3 separate regions of the Homo sapiens genome follow, and all the other regions are linked to region 1. Evidence: promoter capture Hi-C in 16 types of primary human blood cells and fetal thymus (Javierre and others, 2016). All regions are on one chromosome and are shown on one strand. The core of a region is centred on a gene start or on the middle of the fragment in contact, and the rest is flanking DNA. Distances in the headings are between cores, read along the strand shown. Region 1 holds the start of SEPTIN7-DT (SEPTIN7 divergent transcript). Region 2 overlaps ELMO1 (engulfment and cell motility 1). Region 3 overlaps ELMO1 (engulfment and cell motility 1).

Evidence for each region. Contacts are between HindIII fragments. The CHiCAGO score rates a contact against its expected background, and 5 or more counts as called.
Region 2: a fragment that was not itself captured here is called in contact with the fragment with the promoter of SEPTIN7-DT in region 1 in 1 of 17 cell types (fetal thymus); the score reaches 9.0 in fetal thymus.
Region 3: a fragment that was not itself captured here is called in contact with the fragment with the promoter of SEPTIN7-DT in region 1 in 1 of 17 cell types (activated CD4 T cells); the score reaches 5.9 in activated CD4 T cells.

Annotation. Positions count from the first base shown.
Region 1 is chr7:35,798,595-35,802,914 of GRCh38, reverse strand. SEPTIN7-DT (SEPTIN7 divergent transcript) reads left to right here and starts at 2,290. Exons shown (of 5, transcript NR_120512.1): 1 at 2,290-2,425. SEPTIN7 (septin 7) reads right to left here and starts at 1,858. Exons shown (of 14, transcript NM_001788.6): 1 at 1,645-1,858. The coding sequence starts at 1,705. RefSeq lists silencers at 947-1,396, 1,427-1,666 and enhancers at 1,817-2,206, 1,821-2,444, 2,567-2,626. The HindIII fragment of the contact is 5,766 bases long and covers 1-4,320 here.
Region 2 is chr7:37,443,707-37,448,026 of GRCh38, reverse strand. All of the region lies in intron 1 of ELMO1 (engulfment and cell motility 1), which reads left to right. Among named protein-coding and RNA genes, the nearest start is that of ELMO1, 3.0 kb to the left of the region's middle. The HindIII fragment of the contact is 1,545 bases long and covers 1,107-2,651 here.
Region 3 is chr7:37,413,010-37,417,329 of GRCh38, reverse strand. The region is part of intron 1 of ELMO1 (engulfment and cell motility 1); the gene reads left to right. Among named protein-coding and RNA genes, the nearest start is that of ELMO1, 34 kb to the left of the region's middle. The HindIII fragment of the contact is 1,438 bases long and covers 1,186-2,623 here.

The DNA.
Region 1 (4,320 bases), core at 1,041-3,540:
ATAGCTTCACTCAACTCTTATCTCCTTTAGTCCCACCCACTGAACAGCTGAATGAGATGAAAGATTGTTTACTGCTCTCCCGCCACGACCGTACCACCCCCCCATCACCACCCAACCACCCCTTACTCATTCCCTTGCAGTCTGAAGAAATAAAGAATCCAAGCAGCAATAGCTGACTTGGTCATTGTTTATATCCCCCCTTCAGTCTATCAGGATTCCATAAATTTCATCCCTACCTGTACACTTTTAAGTCTAAAATACTCTCCTCCCCATGTCTGCACATAAACTTTAGGGGGAAAAACTGACTATACTCATCACCTGCATGTGCATAAATATGTAAAACAGGTTAGATGCTTAGTAATTTAGATGATCTGTTCATTTACATTCTCAGGGGCACTAACAAAGATATTTTTTCCTTTCATCAAAATAAAAAAGCCAGAAGAAAGAATTCTTAAAGCTGAACTATTTAGCAATAAACTCAAGAAATGTAGTAAGTTATTATTTCAGTAACTAAGAAAACACCTGGACGTCACAAATTCTTTCCTAGGACTGTAAAAACCCAAATTTGAAACAGTGTACTCTTCAAAAGTAACTCAGCAAATGGAAATGTCCTAGAAAAATCTCGGTTGCTTATTTCTTACTATACACACAGCTGAAATGGAACTCAGGAGTGGAAAATGTAAATGAAATGGCCTGTTCTTTTTCCAACATGTGGGGGAGGAAAGGAAATGAAAGGGCTCGTTAAGAGAATAACTGAGAATATTGAAATATTTTCAAAAATTAATTTCCCTAAACTTCGCCACTCCACATCTCCGCTCCCTCCCTTTTCCAAGGACCCTTCCCACCCTTTCTATCTCCTCCGGGGGGCGCCCTTCCCAGGCGTTCTCTTTCCCTTACTCCTAAAAATTAAGCCCAAATTCCAAACCAAACTACCGATTCTCCCTCCGTTCTCAAGACTCGCCCGCCATCCACCGGCCTTCCGGGCTGCGCCTGGAGAGAGGCAACCCCGAGAGGCGGGAGGAGGAGCGGGGAGGCGACGCGGTGACTGGAGCTGCGGCTGCAGCCGCCGCCGCCGCCTCCACCACAGCCTCAGCCTGGTGCATCCTTCTTCCTCCCTCCCCGCCGCCGCCCGCCCGGGTTGGCCCACACAGCACCCTCGCCCGAGCGTTCACACTCGTCCCCACCCTCCTAGCCAGGCCCACTGCCCCACGAGGGGACTTCTGCCGACGGGGATGCGGCCGGGGACAGGAGGAAGCGGGGCCGCGGAAGCCGGCGGGCCCGGGAGGAGACTGAGGAAAGGCGAAGGGACGGAGAGAAGCAAGGGCAGGGCTGAGACCACCACGCTCAGGCTGCTCCGGCCGCGGAGGCCGCGGCTCTGCGCCGGGGGCCAGCCCGCCGCGGCACAGGAAATGCCGCCGCCTCGGCTCTCCTCACGTTCAATTCAAACTGTCACCGCCGCCGCCTCCCCTCCCCCCGAGCCCGCCGCTGCCGCGCCCCGGGCCCGCAGTGGCCCCCATCCCGGCTCCCCTCGCCGCTGCCTCCGCCTCGCCTCAGGGCGTTCCCTAGCTCGGTCCAGCGGCCGCAGAGCTTCCCGGCATTCGGAGCCGCTGACCCCAAGTCGCGGCACCCGAAGCTGAGACTCACCCATGGTGCTGCTGTTGACGCTCCTCTCCTCAGCAGCAGCGGATCTCGCACTGACCGACATCCCCTCCCCCCCTCCGCGACCAGCCCCAGCGGAGCGCAGCCCGCCGATTCTCCAAAGGCGCCTACGCCGATTCCGCAGCGTAGCCGCCCGGCGTAGCTGCCTTGCTTACGCACGCTACAGCAGGCGGACTCCTCCACAGGCTCTCGCTCGACTCCCGCTCCCTCCTCCGTCCCCCGCCCCCTCAGACGAGGCTTCCGGGCCTAGCGGAGGCTGGCTTCCATCTCGCGAGATTACCGCCTCCCCAGCTCCGCCGCCTCGCTCCATTTCGAGCATGACTTCATTGGCGTCAGCAACGTTTTGCTGTTCGGGTTTAGCCGCCATGTTTAAGTTGGCCGGGTTTCGCACCACTGAGGTCATGGATACTCAGGCCTCTTTGCGTGTTTCTTCAACACTGCTTCTAAGGTTAACCGCGTTACATTTGTTGGAGAAAATCCTGGGAACGCTGAAAAGGACTAGTGGGTGGGGTGCGAGGGTGGGGTCTTGCCCGAATTAAAGATGGCCGCAGTCAGCTCTGCCCCGCGCAATTTCACGTCAAGTTTTGGAGCTGCGGGAGCCGGCCAGTTGGCCTCAGCGCCTCCTTACGGAATTGGCGTAAGGCAAAGAGGCGCGGCTGGAAGAACCAGACTGAGAAAGTGCCACAGGGCGGGGGCCGCATCCGCCCCTCGGCTTCTGGTTACTGACCCGACGGCTTTGTGAGTGAAAGTGAAGAGACACTTCGAGGCAGGTGTCTGTGCTCCCCATTCATCCCTGTTTCCGTGGCTATCTTGACTTTCGGGGTGAAAAGTGAGGTTAGGCCCTGTTTCCCCGACCCTTCCCTCGCGCCATCACACTCTAGTGGCCTGGCACAGCCCCAGAGGTCGGCCGCTGTAGCCCCCATTGCGGACTCGCCACATTCATATTGGCTCACCTTGTCGGTGCCCGGTTCGGTCCTCTTGGAGCTCACACTCCAGTTGAGGAAATGAATGGACACAGGAACTACTGGGTAACAAAATACTAATAAAGGGCTGCGATTGTGTGAGTTTCTACTGTAGCGATGAATGTCGCTGTCATTGGAACGTTCCCCAAGTGCCTTCTAGTGAAAGCCTTACTTCACTCGGAATAACCTGTGGTCTTTTCTTGAACGTGATGGCTCTCTTGGTTGTATTCTTCATGCACATGTGTTACTTTTCCTGTTTAACTACATGTTAAAGAAATGTGTATGTTCCTGTTTAACTGCATGTTTTAAAAAAGTATGTGTATTTTTAAGTTATAGGCACGTGCAAGAAAGTTCAGAGCAAAATAGCTTATATTAGTGAAACAATAAATGTCTACTAATAGGAGAATGGATGAATAAGTGTCATTGTTGAACAAATTGACATACAACACGAACCAAAAAATCAGTGAACTAAAGCTACCATTTTTCATATGGATAGAGTCATTAACCTAATATTGAGGAAGAAATGAAAAGACAGGTTGCGGAAAGATATATATGACATACCATAAATAAAAGTTTAATAATTACAAAAAAGTAAGATCAAACTAAAAATTGTATAAGGAAATGATAGATACCAAATTCAGAATACTGGTTGCTTCCAGAGATGAACAGAAGGGAATGTAACAAGAAGGGTTCATTTGTATCTATAACGTTTGTTTTCTACCAGAAATATCTTGAAAATGTGGCAAAACATTAAGCTAAGTAGAGGGCACATGGGTGTTCACTTGTAATTATTTCCTTTACTGTTCTATATACTTGAAATATTTCCAAGTAATTTTTTTTAAGAAAAGAAACTTATAGAAGCAACTTATTTTGTATCTTGATATATGCCATTTCGTAAGTCTACATTTTTACTGAACTGCTTATGAAGTCTGTTGCAACTTATCTGTTCAATCATTGTTTTAAGTTTCTGAAACTTCAAATGAACTTTTACTTTGGGAAATTTTGTTGAATTTCTATTTTTGAAAAAAAGCAGTGTACCAAGGAGGGTAAATGTATATAGCCTCCGGAGTCAGACTGCCTGAGTTCAAATCCCAGCTCTCCATTTATTAGGCTTGCAACCAAGAACAAGTTACTTAAACTTTCCTGTGATCCAGTTTCCTCATCTATAAACGGAGATAATACTTATCTAACAGGATTTTGATAAGAGTTAAATAGACTAATACATGAACACGGTGCTTAGTCAATGCTTAGTAAATATTACCTAAATATAGATTATTTTAAAATATAAAATTAAAGCAAATACTTATATTAATATAACCTAATAGTCTAAAGGAAGTAAATCTTTGCCTCCCATCTCTATTGATAATATTTCTTTGAGGAAGATCTCTTAATGGGTATGAAAGAGGTGAATTGTGTTATTTTGTGCTATGAAAATGGATAAATTCTTAATAGAAACTATATTAAATTCCTTGTCTGAAGTTTGTTCATGTTCACCCCACACTATGATAGCTTCACTACTTTTCATTGAAAATCACACAGAGTGGCCGGGCGCGGTGGCTCACGCCTGTAATCCCAGCACTTTGGGAGGCCGAGGCAGGCAGATCGCCTGAGGTCAGGAGTTCGAGACCAGCCTGGCTAACATGGTGAAACCCCGCATCTACTAAAAATACAAAAAATTAGCCGGGTGTGGTGGCGGTAC
Region 2 (4,320 bases), core at 630-3,129, 1.6 Mb before region 1:
ACACACCGGGGTCTCCGCCGAGACCGAGAGAGGCGGCGGGGAGCTTTGTGGAGCTTCGTGGAAATCTCGGCTTCGGAGAGGGGACGCACCGGGCGCGCCTTCAGAGAAGGGGGCGGCGGCATGCCAGGGGGCCCGGGAATCGGAGCGGAGAGTGGCGACTGCGATCGCCGGAGTCGCTTTGAGGAAGAGGAAATACAGAACTCAGCTGTCCCGGGGGTGCGCGCGTGTGTTTGGGGTTGGGAAGTCGGTGCTGTGCCGCGAGCGCGCGCGAGGCGGCGTGTGTGTGTGTGTGTGTGTGTGTGTGTGTGTGTGGTGTGTGCGCGCGCGCGTATGTATGTGTGTGTGGTGTGTCGTCGGTGTGTGTGTGAGTGTGTGTGTGTGGGGGGGGTGTTGTGGGTGTGTGTGTGAGTCGGTGTGTGTGTGTGTGACCGCACAGCCAGGAACTCCCCGCCCAGTGACCCTCTCCCGCCTAGGGGGCCATTTGAAGTTGGAGGCGGGTCGGGACCTGCCTTGACCTAAAGGACCAGCCTCAGGCTTGGTCCCAGGTAGTGACCCAGCTCTGAGAGTCCCTGGACGGCTCCCGAGACTCAGTGAATATATTTGGGATGCCCCCCGCGCTGGATCATGGGCTTCCCAACACCGCTGGCCTTGAATGATTCGGGCCTAATTCGTTATGGTTAAGATTTCAGATAATCTAAGACGGGTTGAGGCCTCCAGAAGCGGAGGCTTCCTGTTGGGCGCTGCCAGTGACTTGGGGATGAAGCTATGGAAGAATATCTGAGTGTTTCTCTTTTGCTTCTATAAAAGTAATTAATGACCTGTATTTACACACCAAAACCCTGCGAGCAACTTTGGGACATAGAGGGATATAATCCTTCTCAGAATCACTTTGAGATTGCAAAAACCGGCAGCAGCTATTATTGGGGTCTCCTCTGGCCAGGGTTCTCATATTATCTCACCTCCATGCCTACTTTCCAAGGTTGTTTCAAGCATTAATGTCCCATAATTTACAGATCTGGGGGAAAATAATGGTAAGTTAGGAGGCCAGATCCCCTGCAGAAACATCACATATTTTTAATTTTTCTTATAGCTGACCTTTTGAAGCTTTACTCTTTATTATTGTACATTTCCTATCTCTGGAAGGCTGTGGTTAAATGTGCATGCTGCCTTGTTTCTACTCTGTTTTGTTTGTTTTTATTAGGTTGGTAAATTTTGAGAAAATGACCTGGACTGCTGGGACTCTTGGGGAGGGGTTGTGTCAGGAGGGTACTGAACTGGAGAACAAGAAGTATGGTAGGTATCAGGGAGGGGCAGGCTCGGAGGCAGACCCGGATGGGAGTCTGGGGAAACTCAGGGCCTGGAGCAGTCATTGGGCAAGAAGATGGGCAGTTCTAGTGATGGTCATGCTTACTGTCCTTGGTAACTGCAGGCACCCTCACCGTCTTACATTCTTCTTTTTCACTGAGTTCTCTCCCTAGGGCCTTTGCCCATGATATTACAGGAGGAGCTTTTCTCCCACATGTCCAGATGACTCACTTCCCCTGCTTCTTTCAGGTCTCTGTCCAGTTGTCAGCTTATAGGGGGCCTTCCCTGGCTACCCCATATAAAATAGCAGCCAGACACTCCCTGGGCCTCTTATGTTACTCAGTTTTTTGTCTTAGTACCTTTTACTCCCTGGCATTATACAGTCATTGGTGTATTTTGAGTATTGTCTCTCTCCCTGTTAGAGCAGAAGTTCCATGAGGGTAGTGACTACCTTGTCTTGTTTACAGCTCCAGAACCTGGATGGATTCTTAGCATGATGTCGGTGCTCAATAAGTGTTTGTTGACTGACTAAATGAGAGGTGGCTATACTGGGAGAGATCCACCAGGGAAATATACCAGGAAAATGTTGCAGCATTAGTGCAAGTGAGAAGCCCAGGTAATGGGCTTTTGCTTTTTTCGCTGTCCTTTCCCCCATGCCAGGCCACTCTTCTTTTAGACTCTGTTCTGCCTTGAGTAGACTCCTCCCTTTTTCTGCCTGAAGAAAGGAACAGAGAGGTGATTCCTTGGGAGATTAGATAACCAGTACACTTAATGACACATAACCATTCCAGATCTGGTGTTTCATCACTCTCCTTGGAGAAGGTCTTTTAAAGAAGTCTGTGTTGCTTTAGCCTAGGAGGAAGGGCATGATTGTAAGGGGATTGAAGTCAGAGGCATCTACTGTGTCCCATTCTGCTCTCCTACAATATGGAAGTGAAGACAGGAGGCTGTAAGGGAGGCTGTGTGGCAGATGCAGGGGAGATGAGAAATGCCTAGGAGAAGAAAAATAAAAGTGAGAAAACATTAAGGTGTTCTGCAGGTGCAGCTAAGTCTTGAACATTTACTAAATTACTATATTGAAAAGAAGCTAACTCTTGAGTGTTTCAAAGTAATTTAACCCCTTTGGGTGTTTGGTGTGAGTGGGTGGGGCGGGTGGGGAAAGGGCTTTGAAGCCTTTGCTGAAGGATGTGGCTGGGGGTGAGGCAAGGAGCTCACCTGATCACACACTGTGCTTACTTCATCAGGTTGCCTAATGCTCAAGGGTTAAAGGTGATCATTCCTATGGAGGTAACATTTCCCTTCCAGATCTAAGACAGTGGATACAATTAAGGTTTGTAACTCAAGCTTGTAACCACTTTTTGGTGCCTGAAACCATCCAAGTAGATAGTTTGGTTTATAAGACATTCTGTTGAATCTGGAAAACGTGGTGGATTAAGAAACCCTCTCTGCATCACAAAGCCTGGAGTGTTTGCTACTAATTGTGCAACTTTAGTTCTGGTTCCTTCTAGTCAACCAGAGAAGTGCTTTTTAAGCTTACGGCTGTAACCCATGAGCGGATCATGATATCACTTTAGTAGGCCAAGACCAGCAGTTTAAAATGTGAAAGAGAAGAGTGGTGTGGAAAACAGCATTTCATAAAACAGACACCCAGTCTTAATGTCAAAGTATTGCTCAGTGTAGGTAACGATTTTAAAAAGCCTGTTTCAATAATTCTGGGGAAAACTACATTTTTAACCAACTTGCCAGGGATTCTGATGACGACGTTCTAGAGGGCTACAAGAAATACTTAGCTATCTCCTTTTAACAAAATACTGTTGGTTTAACCCCCTGCAGGAGATGCTATTTCCAAATGTTGAACCAGATGCAGTTCTGTCGGCTATTGACTTAACTTTTCAAAATGCTACTATTGGCCGGGCGCGGTGGCTCACGCCTCTAATCCCAGCACTTTGGGAGTCCGAGGCGGGTGGATTGCGAGGTCAGGAGATCCAGACCATCCTGGCTAAGGCGGTGAAACCCCGTCTCTATTGAAAATACAAAAAAAATTAGCCGGGCGTGGTAGTGGGTGCCTGTAGTCCCAGCTGCTCTGGAGGCTGAGGTAGGAGAATTGAGTGAACCCGGGAGGCAGAGCTTACAGTGAGCTGAGATTGCGCCACTGCACTCCAGCCTGGGCGACAGAGCAAGACTCCATCTCAAAAAAAAAAATGCCACTATTTGTAGAACTTGCCAGTGCGCTAGGCCCTCATGCTGCCATCTTGGAGGAACTAGAAACTCAAGTGACATGCTTTTCACTTTAGTGATGCAGAAAGGCAGTAGCTCCCTTTGCAATAACTCTTTAACCTTACTTAGAATAAAATCGACAGACTATCCCCTTTTCTCACCAAGTTTTAGTTTAGAACTTTTGAGGTCTTTGGAAATTTACTCTGCTCAACTTCTCCTTTCATATTTTACATCTAGTGTTCCCCACATGAATGATTCTAATTACAAAGACAGTTGTAATCTCTTCTGGAGGCAGCCACACTGCTGGGATGCATGATTAGGTGAAGCATTTTAGCTGACCTGGGCTTGGATTGGCTATCCAAAGAAGAAAGTCAAAGGCTGACAACTCAGCCTGGGCAACATAGCGAGACCACATCTCTCAAAAGTTAAAAAATTAGCTGGGTATGATGGCATGCACCTGTAGTCCCAGCTACTTGGTAGGCTGAGGCAAGAGAATGGCTTGAGTCCAGGAGTCTGAGGCTGCAGTGAGCTGTGATCTCACCACGGTGCTCCAGGTTGGGGGACAGAAAAAGACCCCATCTCTTTAAAAAAAGAGTCTGAGAACTTCTGCACTGTCCATAATAAAAGGATCATGAAGGCCAGTCATTCCACAGGGTGTGGCTCCCAGGACCATGTGTGTGGCCATGAAAGCCTTCCAGTATGCCAGCACAGCATTTTTAGGTTCAGCAAAGCCAGCCTGCATGTACAATGCACACACTGGTTGCAATGCTTATTTCCCTGGATAATTTGGGTTGTTTG
Region 3 (4,320 bases), core at 655-3,154, 1.6 Mb before region 1:
GTCCTAGTGGGTTAGCACCTGCCCAAATGACCTCGTTTTAACTTGATTATGTCTGCAGAGACCTATTTCCAAATAAGGTCACATTCACAGATAGCAGGAAAGGACTTCAACGTGTCTTTCTCAGGGGACGCCTTTCCATGCATAACAGCTGCCTCTGGTCCAGTCTTTCTATCCCCTCTTCAGTGGTGTGTCCACCAGCAAAACTTCTGTGCCTCAGTTTCCTTGGCTGTAAAACGGTGCCCTCTTCTAGGATCGTTGAGAGAATTAAATGAAATCATGCTTGGCAGAGTATCACGCTCATAGAAAGTGCTCAGTAGGGGTTTAGCTTTTACAGCTAGTTGCTTGCAGTCATTTGATTTCATAAGCTAGGTTTGTGGAGAAACTGAGGAAGTGAATGAGCCAAACACAAAAGTAAACACTGTTGATAGGACAGGTGGTTAACTCTTTCAGTGCCACAAAACACATTCTGACTCACCTGCACACAAATTTTGCTTACAAGATTGTTGTCAGCACTAATTTTGCTCCAAGTATTTGCTTGATTAAAATCTCTTATGCTACTCTTTGCAGCTGACCTATAACAGAAATAAATGAACTAACTAGAGATACTTTCTTCGTTGGGCTTCCATCTAGAGCTAAGCTTTACTTAGGCTTTCAAATTGTAAGCAAATGCAAAATAACTCTCTTGGGAAAATTCCAGAGAATCTAGGCCTTGAGCTGTTGTAAGCAAATGTGGCCCTCCTTTTAGGGCGGGAATCTAAGAAATGGAGATTATGCATTATCCAGTTCCAGGGGCATCATTCATACTGTGGTCTGTGCGTGTGCATGGACAAGCCTGCTCCTCTGGGTGAGGTGGCCATAGGTCCTTTCTGGGGTTCAGTAAGTTCTGATAGTGGCATTGTCATGGTGTGAAACCTCTCATTCTCCCAGTTTAATTATTCAGTGAGAATGGGATTCCTGAGATTCTAAACCATATTCCATAACTTTGGAAAATATATGTGTATATAAAATTTTCCATACGGTTAAAACCTGAGAGTGGACTGCAAGTCAAATTGCTATTTTCTTCCCTGCTTCGTCTTTGTGAACTTCGTATTGTCAGTTTTCCTGACAGTTGACAAAAGTGGGCAGTTTTGGTGGCATATCTGATTTAGGAAGTAAGTGCAACAATTTGAAAGCCTAAGTAAAGCTTAGCTTTAGATGGAAGCCCAATAAAGGAGTTATCTCTAGTTAGTTCATTTATTTCTGTTGTAGGTCAGCCGCAAATCTGAAAACACAGGTTTGAATTTGTATGCTCATTTAATGTTACTGATAATCTGAAATGCTGGTTTTTAGGACTGTAGATTTCATTATGGAATATGTTTTTAACTTAATTTGTACATGGGTCTCTTGTTGTTTTGGGAATTTTGTTCTAAGACATGTTGAAGCTGTGCTGTAGTTATTGGGTTTATGAGTTGTTGGGGTATTATTTATTTTTAATGTACTCTGTTCCTTCCTCTTCCCAAAGCAAATAATCAAGAATTAATGTTTAACTTTAAGTTGGATCCACTCACTTTATATTGAGAGTTATTATTACTTTAATTCACGTTTCTTTTCCCTGAAGCCCTGATATATCTTTGGGAAGATACATTTTTTCATGCATTAATTATTTTCTTTTCCAGTATCAATTGCAGATATTACAATCACAGCAAGAAACATCTGTTGTACCTTTATTATGTGCCAGGTACTGTGCTGCCTGCTTTATATGAATTATTATTACGATCATTAAATTTTTATATCCACGCTAGACTTTACATACTGTCTATCATAACTCACATTTTATAATAAGGACTTGAGACTGGGGAAATAAACTTGCCAAGTCGACACAATTTAAAAGTGGTAGAGCCAAGAGTTGAACTCACGTAGTCTCTGACTCTGGAACTATGCTCTTAAACCCTACACTCTTGATGTTGAAGATGTAGGGACATCTTTGCATTTGAAGACAGAAATGCACATACAGCCCAGAACTTTTCAGTGATTCCAAAGACCTCTGTATTTTCACGTAACATAACTTTGGAAGCCACAGATTCGCTTTGCTCAATCTATTTTGTTCAGGAGTACATGCATGCTAATTTGCTCAGGCAGTAGCTGAAAGCAGTGAGAGATATTCCAACAAGGCTCCAGATTGCAAGAGAAATGAGTGTGGATTTAAAAATTAACAGGCTTTGTATGCATATAACTAAGAATCAGCTTACTTGCCATGAAGATGAGTACCAAGGCCCCAAAGTATGTATGTCAGAAGGTAGGATATTACTTGGTTTTGTGTAATTGGTAATACCAAGGTCAAATCAACTTAGATAACTGGTTTAAACCATTAAATAGCTTTTTTGGCTTTAGATATTTCTCAAGATTTTTACTGCAAGCTACGTGCATTGCAGTCTGCAGGAAGAAAAAAAAGGATTATTAGTGTTTTTGCAATGTTCCTGCCCAGCGTTTACTTCTTTATTTGCTCTTGTTTTATTCCCACAGGGAAAGGTTCATTGTAACATACCCAGGGATGTGTGGTAGATTTTTCCAATGCAGCAGGTAGAATGACTTTGATGGTAAGAAACAGAAAATTGAATGCCGACTGGCTTAAACAATAAAAGCTTATATCATTGAAAAGATTAGAGGTATGGTGAGTTACAGAATTAGATTGATTCAGCCACTCTCTGGGTCATTTAGGGTTTCTTTTTTTCTGTCTCTGCCAAACAGGATTGGACTTTGGAGTTGGCCACAGGGCAGATTCCCCCAACACACCAGCAGGGTGGCGATCAGAGAATGCCAGAACAAACATTAGATAATTTTTAAGAAGAGTGACTTGGTGTATGTGTGCCCCAACAAGTATCCACCATAGCCAGTGACCTGGATATGCTTAATTTAGATTAATGAATTTATCCGTCCTCTCTCTTCTCCACCTTGTAGGTGTTAATATTCTACATGTAATGTACAGGGGTTTTCCCCCTCGGATATTTTTGGTGAATATTTCTGTAGTTGTCCCTAAACATAGAAAGATTTTCCAGCAGGATACTAAGAGGTACTGTTTAGCATATTTCAATTTCCCATTACCAATCCCACAGACCTGATAAGATATGGATGTTGGCTGCTAATATCAAATAATGTTTTCTAATTTTCTTAGTGGAAAATGAATGGAATGAATCATTCAAATGAATTCCATGATTCATTATGGAATCATTCACTCAATATTATTTTGATATTAAATGATATTAATTATATTAAAATATTATTTTGATATTAAAGTGGAGGTAAATTGACTTCTGTCATATACCTTTTCACTTTGCTACTTCACAGTTTCCCTCTGTTCTTGCCATGCTGAAGTGGCCTGGTGTGGTGGCTAACATCCCTAATCCCAGCACTCTGGGAGGGCGAGGCAGGCAGATCACTTGAGACCAGGAGTTCCAGACCAGAATAGGCAACGTGACAAAACCCCATCTCTACTAAAAATACAAAAATTAGCCAGACGTGGTGGTGTGCGCCTGTAATCCCCGCTATTTGGGCGGCGGAGGCACAAGAATTGCTTGAACCCAGGAGGCAGAGGTTGCAGTGAGCTGAGATCACGCCACTGCACTGTAGCCTGAGTGACAGAGCAAGACTCTGTCTCCCCCACAACTGCCCCCAAAAAAGGAAAGTGCTGAAGGGTGTTTTCCTGAGTGACATGCTGGAACTTTAGATGGCAAGAAAAAGAGAGCTAAGGGCATACTTTGCATGTTACCTGGATGCTCATTTTTGGCCAAGGGGATTTCTTCTGAGAAGTGAAAAATATCTTCAGACAGTTTGGTTCATTTGGTGATTGTCCTGCTTGCCAGGTTGTACCAACTGGTATTTTCTTCTTTTGTTCAGTAAATCAACCAAAAGCCCACTATGTGTAAGGTATTTTCTGTGGATTCAAAGTTGAACAAGACTTCCTTAGCCTTCCTGGTCTTTCAGTCTGGTCAGGGAGATGAGACAGACACACAAATAACCACAATACAAAGGACGAAGAGGAAAGCTAGGCTTGGAAAAAGGGCTGTTGGGCTTGGAGGAGGCAAGGAAAGATTCCTGGAGAGATGAGGAAAGTCTTGTGTGCAAGGGGAAGGGAGAAGAGGGAGGATTTCAGACAGAGCAAGTATTAAGAATCTTGAGCCTAAATGTTGTGAAGCAGTTAAAATTAAAAAAAACAAAAAAAAAATTTGGTCAAGTTATGTCTCCTATTAGTGACTTATTATTGTTTAACAAATCACCACAAAACTTAGTGGCTTGACCCAACAAGAATAATTTATTCTCTTTCATAATTTTAGTGGTTGAGGA